4 separate regions of the Homo sapiens genome follow, and regions 1, 2 and 3 are each linked to region 4. Evidence: promoter capture Hi-C in 16 types of primary human blood cells and fetal thymus (Javierre and others, 2016). All regions are on one chromosome and are shown on one strand. The core of a region is centred on a gene start or on the middle of the fragment in contact, and the rest is flanking DNA. Distances in the headings are between cores, read along the strand shown.

What was found. Contacts are between HindIII fragments. The CHiCAGO score rates a contact against its expected background, and 5 or more counts as called.
Region 1: the fragment with the promoter of UNC13A here is called in contact with a fragment that was not itself captured in region 4 in 2 of 17 cell types (M2 macrophages and M1 macrophages); the score reaches 6.9 in M2 macrophages.
Region 2: a contact is called between the fragment with the promoter of MAP1S here and a fragment that was not itself captured in region 4, in 3 of 17 cell types (megakaryocytes, endothelial precursors and M1 macrophages). The highest score is 5.7, in megakaryocytes.
Region 3: the fragment with the promoter of INSL3 here is called in contact with a fragment that was not itself captured in region 4 in 4 of 17 cell types (M1 macrophages, M2 macrophages, M0 macrophages and 1 more); the score reaches 6.6 in M1 macrophages.

What each region holds. Positions count from the first base shown.
Region 1 is chr19:17,686,624-17,689,605 of GRCh38, forward strand. It overlaps UNC13A (unc-13 homolog A), which reads right to left and starts at 1,731. Exons shown (of 44, transcript NM_001080421.3): 1 at 1,555-1,731. The coding sequence starts at 1,576. RefSeq lists enhancers at 1-872, 873-1,833 and a silencer at 1,067-1,249. The HindIII fragment of the contact is 13,980 bases long and covers 1-2,982 here.
Region 2 is chr19:17,718,171-17,721,075 of GRCh38, forward strand. It overlaps MAP1S (microtubule associated protein 1S), which reads left to right and starts at 1,310. Exons shown (of 7, transcript NM_018174.6): 1 at 1,310-1,450; 2 at 2,766-2,867. The coding sequence starts at 1,333. RefSeq lists a silencer at 1,492-1,541 and enhancers at 1,892-1,961, 2,352-2,501. The HindIII fragment of the contact is 1,227 bases long and covers 1,078-2,304 here.
Region 3 is chr19:17,820,269-17,823,064 of GRCh38, forward strand. It overlaps INSL3 (insulin like 3), which reads right to left and starts at 1,251. Exons shown (of 2, transcript NM_005543.4): 1 at 1,049-1,251. The coding sequence starts at 1,238. The HindIII fragment of the contact is 12,026 bases long and covers 1-2,796 here.
Region 4 is chr19:17,426,402-17,429,141 of GRCh38, forward strand. No RefSeq gene overlaps it. Among named protein-coding and RNA genes, the nearest start is that of MVB12A, 7.7 kb to the left of the region's middle. The HindIII fragment of the contact is 1,825 bases long and covers 427-2,251 here.

The sequences.
Region 1 (2,982 bases), core at 481-2,980, 260 kb after region 4:
TTGACCTTTGACTCTAGGGACCCTTCTTCCACCACCCCCAGCCCCGTCCAGCAGAAACGAGCTTAGAGAAAGTAGGCCCCTGTCCCTTTAAGAACACCCGCGTCCACGCCGGCCCAGCCCGGCCGGATTTGCACTCGGAAGCTGCCGCGGCGGGGAGCGGGCGGGCGGGGCAGGGTTTGTGAATGAATCGGCCGAGGGGGAGGGGAGGGAGGAGGAGGGGCGGCGGGGGCGGTTCCCGGCTCCCCGGCCTGCCCACCCTGTGTCCAGGCAGCAGGAGTTCAGCACACGCACGCTTCCTGTCGCCCGAGGTCTCCCGAAGCCTGCAGTCTCAGGCTTGGCAGACACACCCCTTCCCCCACCCCAGCCTTCTTGAAATGGGTGGGAGTGACGGGGGGACCCCAGTCCTTAAGAACCAGGGGTTCAGAGCTCTGTAGGCGTGGAACGGCGGTCCACATCCACCCCTGCCGCCCAAGGTCTCCCAGAGTTTGATTTCTCAAACGGGAGTGCCCAGAACGCCTGGGTTCGGTTGGGCTGGCTTCCCCACGACCCCAGAGCCATAAAGGTGTGGGGTGGGGGGTCATGCCCCTCCCACGTCTCCCTCCCTCCTCCAACCCCAACGCAGAGCGTGGGCCTGGGCGTGGGCCTCTGTGCAGATGGCGTTCTGGCCCCAAAATAGCTCCCCCCCCACCTCACGTCTCCCTCCCTCCCTCTCTCCAGTGCAAAGTGGGTGAGGTGAGGATGGGCCAGGAGGGGGACCAGGAGACATTGCTCTTCCAAGAAGTAGGCTCCCTGCCGAGAAGGCCCTGAAACGTGTTTGGGAGAACCGGAGGGGGCAGGGAGCGGGAAGACCTTCTGGACATTCCTCCAACCCCCTCACTCGGGAGGCCAAAGAGTTAACTGGAAAAGCGCCCCCAGACCTCCAGTCACAGCCCTCTCTGGACGCTGGGAGGGGTCTCCTGTCTCCACACTCCCCCCACTCCAGTCCTCTTTACACCTAGGGCTGGGAGAGTCCTAGAACTCGTGGATGCCCTGATGGCCAAGCCCCTCTACCTATATCTTACATCCCCACGGCTTGGAGAACCCTCCCACCGCACTCTCCTTCGAATTTCCAGCCGGGTCCGCGTCCATGAGGACCCGTAACCCAGCCCACAACACCAGACCCCTTCCAAGCACCCCTGCAGGCTTCAATCAAACTACCGAGCCCAGACTCTTCCTCACTGACCCTCTAAAAACCTGGTCTACACAGACGCCCCAGTCTAGATCGTTTCCGGGTAGAACCCCGGATACCCGTCCACGTCCACACGGGCCTCCGCGTTCAGCCGCGTCCACACGACCCCTCCAGCAGCGGCCACCAGGACCCCCGAGAGCCCTGCCGCGTCTACACGGATCACCCCCTCCGGGGCCCAGCTGCGTCGACAAGGGCTACCCCTCTCAAAAGTCCAGCCACCTGGACTCGGGTCACCCCCCAGGAACCCCCTGGGAGCCGCATCCACGCGGACCCCGACCCCAGCCCGCGTCCACACGGGTCCCCCGACCCCCAGCCTCGCCTCCTACCTCCAACGCAAAGCAGAGACATGTCTCCGAGCTCGCAGGTGGGCCGGAGGCGGCCGGGCCGGCTCTGTCGGGTCGGGCTCAGCGGCCGCTGGGCTGGGGCATCTCCCGGCTGCAGCCCGCGCTTGGCTCACGCCGGGGCCCGGCCGCCACCGGCCATCTTGGTTCAGCACCGGGGGCGCGGACAGCGCCTGACGTGGCGCTGATGCGGGGCGGGCAGGCGGAGCCCAGGGACGCCTGATGGGGCGGGGGCGCTGCGGGCTGGGGGGGCGTTAAAGGGCCTGGCTCCGGGAAGGGGCGCCTCGCCCCACACCTCCTCGTTGCAGGGGGACAAGGGGCGACGGCGGCCCCCAAGCAGGTTTCCTCCTGTGCAGACCCTCACCTGCACTGAAATGGTGCACGTGCCCCCGCCACCCATGCATGGACATTCCTGCCCTGGTAACCTGGGCAAACGCCTCCCTGCAATACTCAAGCAAGTACAGGCAAATGCAAGCTCTTGTGTGTACGCCCGGCACCAGCACCGGGCAGATGGTCCTGTTCTCTGAGTATCTCTCTTCCTCTGTCTCTACGTCTCTGTCTCTCTAACTCTACTGCCTGGTCTCTTTCTCTCCCTGGGTCTCTGTTCCTCTGACTCTGTCCACTGCTCTCTCAGTCATGTGTCTCTTAGCCTCTCTCTGTAAAGTCTTTTTGCAGCTCTACTGCATCCTGTCTAGGTCTCTCTCTATGTCTCTAAGCCATCCAGCCCATGGGTCCTTGCCCACACTCTGAACTCCTTTTCATCCATCAATGTCTTGTCTGAATATCCTCTCCTCCAGGAAGGCTTCCCTGACTGCCCCAAGCTGAGCCTTTGTTTCTCCTCTCTGGACTCCCCCAGCCCCTATCCCTTCCTCTGATTGGGCCCTGACCCGAACGAAACTCTGCCACTCCTCCCCACTTTTCTTTTTTTTAGATGGAGTCTCCCTCTGCAGCCCAGGCTGGAATGCAGTGACGCAATCTTGGCTCACTGCAACCTCTGCCTCCTGGGATCAAGAGATTCTCCTGCCTCAGCCTCCCCGAGTAGCTGGGACTACAGGCGCATGCCACCATGCCCAGCTTTTTTTTTTTATTTTATTTTTTTTATTTTTAGTAGAGACGAGGTTTCACCATGTTGGCCAGCCTGGTCTTGAACACTTGACCTCAGGGGATCCGCCCATCTCGGCCTCCCAAAGTGCTGGGATTCAGACCTGAGCCACTGCGCCTGGCCCCCTCCCCACATATCAAACTGGGCAGCTCCATGTGGGCCCCTTGCCCTGCAACCTGCTCGCTGTATCACTGGCACCTAAACTAGCATGAAAGGCTGAGCCCCACAGGGTCTCCTGCCCCCAGCCCACATGAAAGAGCTTCATAAATGCAGAATGTGCATGGAGTTGAGTGAGGCCATTGTTCAAAACC
Region 2 (2,905 bases), core at 60-2,559, 290 kb after region 4:
CTTGCAGTGAGCCGAGATCGCGCCACTACCCTTCAGCCTGGGCGACAGAGCGAGACTCTGTCTCTAAAAGAAAAGAAAAGAAAAGAAAAGAAAAGAAAAGAAAAGAAAAGAAAAGAAAAGAAACCTCATCTCTACTAAAATACAAAAATTAGCAGGGCATGGTGGCGGACACCTATAATCCCGCTACTTGGGAGGCTGAGGCAAGGGAATCGCTTGAACCCGGGAGGCAGAGGTTGCAGTGAGCTGAGATTGTGCCATTGCACTCCAGCCTGGGCGGCAGAATGAGACTCCATCTCAAGAAAAGGAAAGGAGAGGAGAGGAGAGGGGAGAGGAGGGGAGGGGAGGGGAGGGAGAGGAAGGGAGGGGAGGGGAGGAGAGGAGAGGAGAGGGGAGAGAAGGGGAGGGGAGGGGAGAAGAGGAGAGGAGGGGAGGGGAGGAGAGGAGAAGAGAGGGGAGGAAAGGAAAGAAAAGCCTAAAGAGGATTATCTGGGGAGAGAGAGGTACCCATGTGCGCAACGCAGGCAGTCCCTTGCACAGGCTGGATCTAGAGTAAGACCCACTTGGGTTCAAACCTGCTCTACCACTTACAGGCCTGGTGACTTCATCCCTCCAAATCTCAGTTTCCTCTTCTTTCCTCTGAAAGTGACCACAGTAACTGTGCCTACTCATCTGTGCCTACATACAAGCACAAAACTCATCGCTTTGTGCTTGTATGTAATGAGCTAATGCAATAAAATACCTGGCGCACAGGAGGTGCAGAATAAGTGTTGCCCTGTTCCAGGCAGGCCCAGAGTGCTCCGGTTGTGTCCCAAACACACATGTACTTTCTTACCTCTAAAACTTTGCACCTGCTGTAAACTTCTGCCTCACCAGCTCTTGCCCCACCACCCACAAGGCAAACTCCTACACATCCCTTAAAGCCCTACCTACAAGATAGATTTCTTTTCTCTGTTCAAGCCCTGACCTAGAGAGCTGGGAGCATCCATAGGCACCGGGTTCTGATGCGGCCTACTGTCATGTGATGTGAGTTCCTGGAGGGCAGGAGTTCTGACCTACATGCAGCAGGCACGCAATCAAAGCTTGTTCAATGAAAAAAAAAATGAATGAATGGTCACTTGGGAGAGGCGGCTCCCAAGCGGACACCCAGGAGTCGGCCAACCCCTTTAACGCCCGCATCCCCTGCTCTCCACGACCTCAAAGGGCCTGTAAGTGGTCGACAAAAAGGGGCGGGGATGCGGTGGTTCCGGGCGGGGTCTTCAGCCCTTCCGGTGCGGCCCCTTTAAGAGGCGGGGCCTGCGGGGCGGGCGCCGAGAACGCCGGGGCGGCCCGAAGATGGCGGCGGTGGCTGGATCTGGGGCTGCCGCGGCTCCGAGCTCACTGCTCCTCGTGGTGGGCAGCGAGTTCGGGAGCCCGGGGCTCCTCACCTACGTCCTGGAGGAGCTCGAAAGAGGTCGGGCTGGCCTGGGGGCCCGCGGGAGCCCGGGAGGCGGGCCCGTTCGCGCGTCTGGGCCCGGGGCCGGCGGGGTGGGGCGGCGGCGGCGGCGGCGGCGGGACCCGGGCTCCGGGGCGGGGGTCGCGGGCCTGGGGCTGGGTCCCCTTCACCGTTAGGCGCACGACGCGGGCAAAGGCGGGGTGCCCGTGGGTGCCCGCGGAGAAAGTGGCATCCGGGCCTGGGCTGGGCAGGGCTGCCCCGCCCCAACTCCGGGTGAAGATAGGGGAGGGGACACGGGCCTGGGCTTGGGGACCCTTGCAGTTGGACCACGGCTCCGCTTCCCGCCTGACTGGCCTGCCCGGGGGTAGGGCCTGGGGTCGCTTTGGATCTCCAGGTCTTAGCAGCTTAGATAGAGATCTCCCGGAGGGAGAAGCAGATATGGGGGAGGCTGGGCCTGGAGCCCCGGGGCCCGCTTTCTGTTGCCTCACAAGGAGCTGCTAATTGGGGTGTGGGCGGGTGCGGCCTGCCCTGGGGATTTGGCACCTAGGGAGGTGAGTCATAGGCGCACCTGCCAGGTTCACCTGCAGCCACTTGGCTCAGTGGGACTGGCGGGCGTGATGCGCCCGTGGGTGGAGATGGGTGTTCATCCCCCATCCCTCGGAGCATCTGGACCTGGCGTTTCATTGCATGTAAAATGGGACAGGAACACGCACCTCGGTTCATGTGCTTGAGGAGTGTTTAGTGAGCACCTGCTATGCGCCAGGCCTTTGGGCAGTGGACACAGGGATATGGCCGGGATGATAGACAGGTTCAGCCCTGCCAACACAGGTCTGGTTTGGGGATGGACCCAAAGCGAGTGAGGAGATGGAACAAGCTTCCAGCTCACATGGTGTCAGGAAGGATGAGAAGGCTGCAAGGGACTGAGAGGACAGTCAGTCTTAGCACCCGAAGGTGCTGAGGGGGAAGGGCCCCCTGGCCAGTAGGAACAGGTGGGGGCGGCAGGGGGATGGACTTCCAGGCAGGGGAAACAGCTGTTGCAAGGGCGGTGAGTGGAAACGGGTCTGGCAGGGCATAGGAGCAGCGAGGAGGTGGAGATGGAGGAGGTGGAGGCTTTGTTGCTGATGAATCTTGTGTGTAAAATGATGAGGTGTGCTCTGGGTCCCCTGGCTCAGCTGCAGCGAGACCTGAAGGTGTTGGGTACTTCTGAGTCTCCAAGCTGTGAGTGAAGGGAGGAGGCTGGGGCGCTCCCCACCCACGGGGTGCTAATTATTGAAATATTCTGGGAGCTGGGGGGCCCGGCTGAACTCCCGCCTTGATCCCTCCTTCCCACCAGGCATCCGGTCTTGGGATGTCGATCCTGGCGTCTGCAACCTTGATGAACAGCTCAAGGTCTTTGTGTCCCGACACTCTGCCACCTTCTCCAGCATTGTGAAAGGTGAGGCTGGGGTCCCCCTGACTGCTCCCTACCTCTTG
Region 3 (2,796 bases), core at 1-2,500, 390 kb after region 4:
GCGAGGCTATGTCTCAAAATAAATAAATAAAAATAAAATAATAAAATAAAGTAACATAATTGTGAAAAGCAATACTTTTCAAAAGCAATACTTTTAAATACTTTTAAAGCTGGACACAGTGACTCACATCGCTAATCCCAACACTTTGGAAGGTCAAGGTGGGAGGATTACTTGAGCTCAGGAGTTTGAGACCAGCCTGGGAAACAGAGTGAGACTCCCTCTCTACGAAAAAGAAAAAAAAATTAGCTGGGTGTGGTGGCAGCACCTGTATCCCAGCCACTCCAGAGGCTGAGGCAGGAGGATGGTTTGAGCCCAGGAGGTTGAGCCTGCAGTGAGCCGAGATCTCACCACTGCACTCCAGCCTGGGCGTCAGAGTGAGACCCTGTCTCAAAAAACAAACAAACAAAGCAAAATTAAGGCAAAAATTCATGAAGATCAAAATATTGAAATTTTAAGACAGGATCTCACCATGTACTTGCAAGAGCCTACCTCTCCTGCCTCACTCTGTTTCTGGCCCCTCAGGGGGACTCATGCTCTGAGGACTTTCTTTTTTTTTTTTTTTTGAGACGGAGTTTCACTCTGTCGCCCAGGCTGGAGTGCAATGGCATGATATCGGCCCACTGCAACCTCTGCCTTCCGGGTTCAAGCGATTCTCCTGCCTTGGCCTCCCAAGTAGCTGGGATTACAGATGTGCATCATTATCCCCGGCTAATTTTTTTAAAAATTATTTTTAGTAGAGATGGGGTTTCACCATTTTGGCCAGGCTGGTCTCGAACTCCTGACCTCTGGGGATCCACCCGCCTCAGCCTCCCAAAGTGCTGGGATTGCAGGCGTGAGCCACCACGCCTGGCTAACGGCTCTGGGGACTTTCACACGCGCGTTCACACACACTCCAGTGCGGACCCACGATCTGTGCACGCAGCCGGCAGGTGAGCCCTGGGCACATGCATGCAAACCTGCCCACCTCCCTGCACGTGTGCATCTGCGCCTACGTGCACCTGCCCCACCTCGGCTTCCCAGAGCGCTGTCCCTGCCCGTCCCCACTCACGGTCGCCTCCGGTCGCAGGCCTCCTGGCTTCGGTGGACCAGCGGGGGCCCCCGCACACGCGCACTAGCGCGCGTACGAAGTGGTGGCCGCACAACTTCTCACGCATCTCTGGGGTGGGCGCGGGGCCCAACGCGAACACCAGGGCAGGGCCCAGCAGCACCAGCGCCCAGGCGGGCAGACGGGGGTCCATGGTGGTGGGTGGCGCCGGGGCCAAGCGGGGACCCCCTTTATAGGCGCCTGGGCCGTCCCAGCTGGGGGCCTTGGAGAAGGGACAGAACATTCTTCAGGACCGCCCAGGAAAAAGGTCAAGGGTGGGGTTAGTGCCAGAGCCTTTCTCCCAGGGCCAGGGCCTTGGATGTACTTCTCCCAGAGGGAGCACTGGGCAACGAGTCTTTCTTTTTTATTTTTTTCTTCTTTTTTTTTGAGATGGAGTCTCACTCTGTCACCCAGGTTGGAGTGCAGTGACTTGATCTCGGCTCACTGCAACTTCTGACACCCGGGTTCAAGCGATTCTCCTGCCTCAGCCTCCTGAGTAGCTGGGATTACAGGTGCGCACCACTATGCCTGGCTAATTTTTTTTTTTTTATTTTTTATTTTTAGTAGAGACTGGGGTTCGCCATGTTGGCCAGGCTGGTCTCCAACTCCTGACCTCAAGCGATCCATCTGCCTCGGCCTCCCAAAATGCTGGGATTACAGGCATGAGCTGTGCCTGGACTATTATTATTTTTATTATTATTATTGAGACAAAGTCTTGCTCTGTCTTCCAGGCTGGAGTGCAGTGATGCGATCTCGGCTCACTGCAACCTCCACCTCCTGGGTTCAAGTGATTCTCCCACCTCAGCCTCCCAAGTAGCTGGGATTACAGGTGTAAGCCACCACGCCCAGCCACCTATTTTTATTTTTTATTTTTGAGATGAGTTCTTGCTCTGTTACCCTGGCTGGAGTGCAGTGGCACGATATGGGCTCACTGCCACCTCCCTATCCCTGACTCAAGCAATTCTCCCACCTCAGCCTCCTGAGTAGCTGGGACTACAGGCCCACGCCACCACACCCGGCTAATTTTTTGTATTTTTTTTGTAGAGATGGGGTTTTGCCATGTTGCCCAGGCTGGTCTCAAACTCCTGGACTCAAGTCATCTTCCCGCCTCAGCCTCCCAAAGTCCTGGGATCACAGGCGAGAGCGACCACACCAGGGTATTTATTCATTTTTGACATAGGATCTCTCTGGGTTGGCCTGTAATGGCAGGATCATAGCTCACTGTAACCTCATTCCCCTGGGCTCAAGCGATCCTTCAGCCTCTGCCTCCTGAGTAGCTGGGACTACAGGCCTGCAATACAATGCCCAGCTAATTTTTAATTTTTTAATTTTTATTTTTATCTTTTTAGACAGAGTCTTACTCTGTCACCCAGGCTGGAGTACAGTGGTGCGATCTCGACTCACTGCAACCTTTGCTTCCTGGGTTCAAGCGATTCTCCTGCCTCAGCCTCCTGAGTAGCTGGGATTACAGGTGCCCACCACCAAGCCTGGCTAATTTTTGTATTTTTTAGCAGAGACGGGGTTTCACCATGTTGGCCAGGCTGATCTCAAACTCCTGACCTCAAGTGATCCACCCGCCTCGGCCTCCCAAAGTGCTGGGATTACAGGCGTGCACCAACGCGCCCGGCCATTTTTAATTTTTTAATTGTAGAGGCAGGGGTCTTGCTATGTTGCCCAGGCTCATCTAGAACTCAAGTGGTTCTCCCTACTCG
Region 4 (2,740 bases), core at 89-2,588:
TCATGCTGTCACCCAGGCTGGGTGAAGTGGCATGATCTCGACTCACTGCAACCTCTGCCTCCCAGATTCAAGTGATTCTCCTGCCTCAGCCGGCACCCCTTGCTGCTGAGTAGCTGGGACTACAGGCTTGGGCCACCATAACCAGCTAATTTGTATTTTGTATTTTTAGTAGAGACAGCGTTTCACCTTGTTGGCCAGGCTGGTCTCAAAGTCCTGACCTCAAGTGATCCCCCGCCTTGGCCTCCCAAAGTGCTAGGATTACAGGTGTGAGCCACTGCGCCCGGCCCAGGCCACACCATTTTCATCCACCAATTCATACAACCTTGTTTTATGTACATTTGTTTAAAAACACCTTATTTAATATCTATGGTGGATTCATTTACATTGAACTCACAGCCAACAGCACCGAAACTCACGTCTGCATAAAGCTTCTCTATAATGGATTTTCTCCATGAGGTGCATCACAGACTTTTTTTTTTTTAAGTATTTTATTTTTGGCATGATCATAGCTCACTGCAGCCTTGACCTCCCGGGCTCAGGTGATCCTCCAATCTCAGCCTCCTGAGTAGCTGGGACTACAGGCTACACTGGGCTAATTTAAAATTTTTTTTGTACTGATGGGGGTCTCACTATATTGCCCAGGCTGGTCTTGAACTCCTGGCCTTGGGCAGTCCTCCTGCCTCGGCTCCCAATGTGCTGGGATTACAGGCATGAGCCGCCGAGCCCAGCCATTGCAGCCTTTTGGTACTTAGGAAGCCTGGACAGCATTTCGGTGTCTGGGGGAATTTCAATGGCAAAATCACCAACAAAAACCACAAGAACATGGCCAGGCACAGTGGCTCATGCTTGTAATCCCAGCACTTTGGGAGGCCGAGGTGGGTGGATCACCTGAGGTCAGGAGTTCGAGACCAGCCTGGCCAACATAGTGAAACCCCATCTCTACCAAAAATACAGAATTAGCCAGGCTTGGTGGCAGGTGCCTGTTATCCCAGCTACTTGGGACACTGAGGCAGCAGAATCGCTTGAACCCTGGTGGGTGGAGGTTGCAGTGAGCTGAGATTGTGCCACTGCACTCCAGGCTGTGCAACAAGAGTGAAACTCCATTTCAAAAAAAAAAAAAAAAAAAAGAGAAGAAATTCACCACCCTAAACTCACACCTTCCTTCTCCCATAAGTGCATGCCCATGGACGTGTACGATGGCTGCTATGCTGCTGTTTCTCCTCTGGGCTGTTGTAGTCTTGTGGTGGCCCACATTCTGCTGCAGTTGGAAACATCCCCAGATCTCTGTGGTTTAGAAAAGCTGGCCAGGCATGATGGCTGATACCTGTAATCCCAGCACTTTGGGAGGCCGAGGCAGGCAGATCACCTGAGGTCAGGAGTTCGAGACCAGCCTGGCCAACGTAGTGAAACCCTGTTTCTACTAAAAATATAAAAATTAGCTGCGTGTGGTGGCACACGCCTGTAATCCTAGCTGCTTGGGAGGCTGAGGCAGGAGAATCGCTTGAACCCGGGAGGTCAAGGTTGCAGTGAGCCAAGATTGCACCATTGCACTCCAGCTTTGGCAACAAGAGTGAAACTCCATCTCAAAAAGAAAAAGAAGAACTAAGGCTGTCATACTTGGAGTCTCACATCTGTAATCCCAGCACTTTTGGGGGCTGAGGCACGAGGATCGCTTGAGGCCAGGAGGTCGAGGCTGCAGTTTGCTATGATTGCGCCACTGCACTCCAGCCTGTGTGACAGAGTGAGACCCTGTCTCTAAATAAATAAATAAGTAAGGCAGGGCACGGTGTCTCACGCCTGTAATCCCAGCACTTTGGGAGGCCGAGGCGGACGGATCACCTGAGGTCGGGAGTTCAAGACCAGCCTGACCAACATGGAGAAACCCCCGTCTCTACTAAAAATGCAAAATTAGCGGGGCGTGGTGGCGCATGCCTGTAATCCCAGCTATTCAGGAGGCTGAGGCAGGAGAATCGCTTGAACCCAGGAGGCAGAGGTTGTGGTGAGCCAAGATCGCACCATTGCACTCCAGCCTTGGCAACAAGAGCGAAACTCTGTCTGCAAAAAAAAAAAAAAAAAAACAGCCTGGGTGCAGAGCAAAACCCTATCTCTAAGTAAATGAATAAATAAATAGCAAAGCTAAGGCTTATTTCTTAGCGGCAATAGACTTTGTTAGTTGTAGTGGTACAGAAACTGGCCTAATGGGAGGGTCATTTTCTCACAGTGAGGACGGTGTTGTCTAAAGAAACATCCAAGCTTTTAAATAATTAAAGTTGGCCAGCCATGGTGGCTCACGCCTGTAATGCCAGCACTATCGGAGGCTGAGGCGAGAGGATCACTTGAGCCCCCGGGAGTTTGAGACCAGCCTGGGCAACACAGCAAGGCCCTGTCTGTACAAATTAAAAATTAGCCGGGCATAGTGATACCTGCCTGTGTAGTCCCTGCTACTCGAGAGGCTGAGGTGGGAGGATCGCCTGAGTCTGGGAGGTGAAGGCTGCAGTGAGCTATGATTGCATAACTGCACTCCTGGCTGGGTGACAGAGCAAGACCCTGTCTCAAAAAAAAAGAAAAAAAAAATTTGGGACTGGGTGCAGCGGTGGCTCACACCTGTAATCCCAGCACTTTGGGAGGCCAAGCTGGGAGGATCTGTTGAGCTCAGGAGTTTAAGGGCAGCCTGGGCAGCAGTGAAACACCATCTCTACGAAAAAAACACACATGATCGGGCATGGTGGCTCACGCCCGT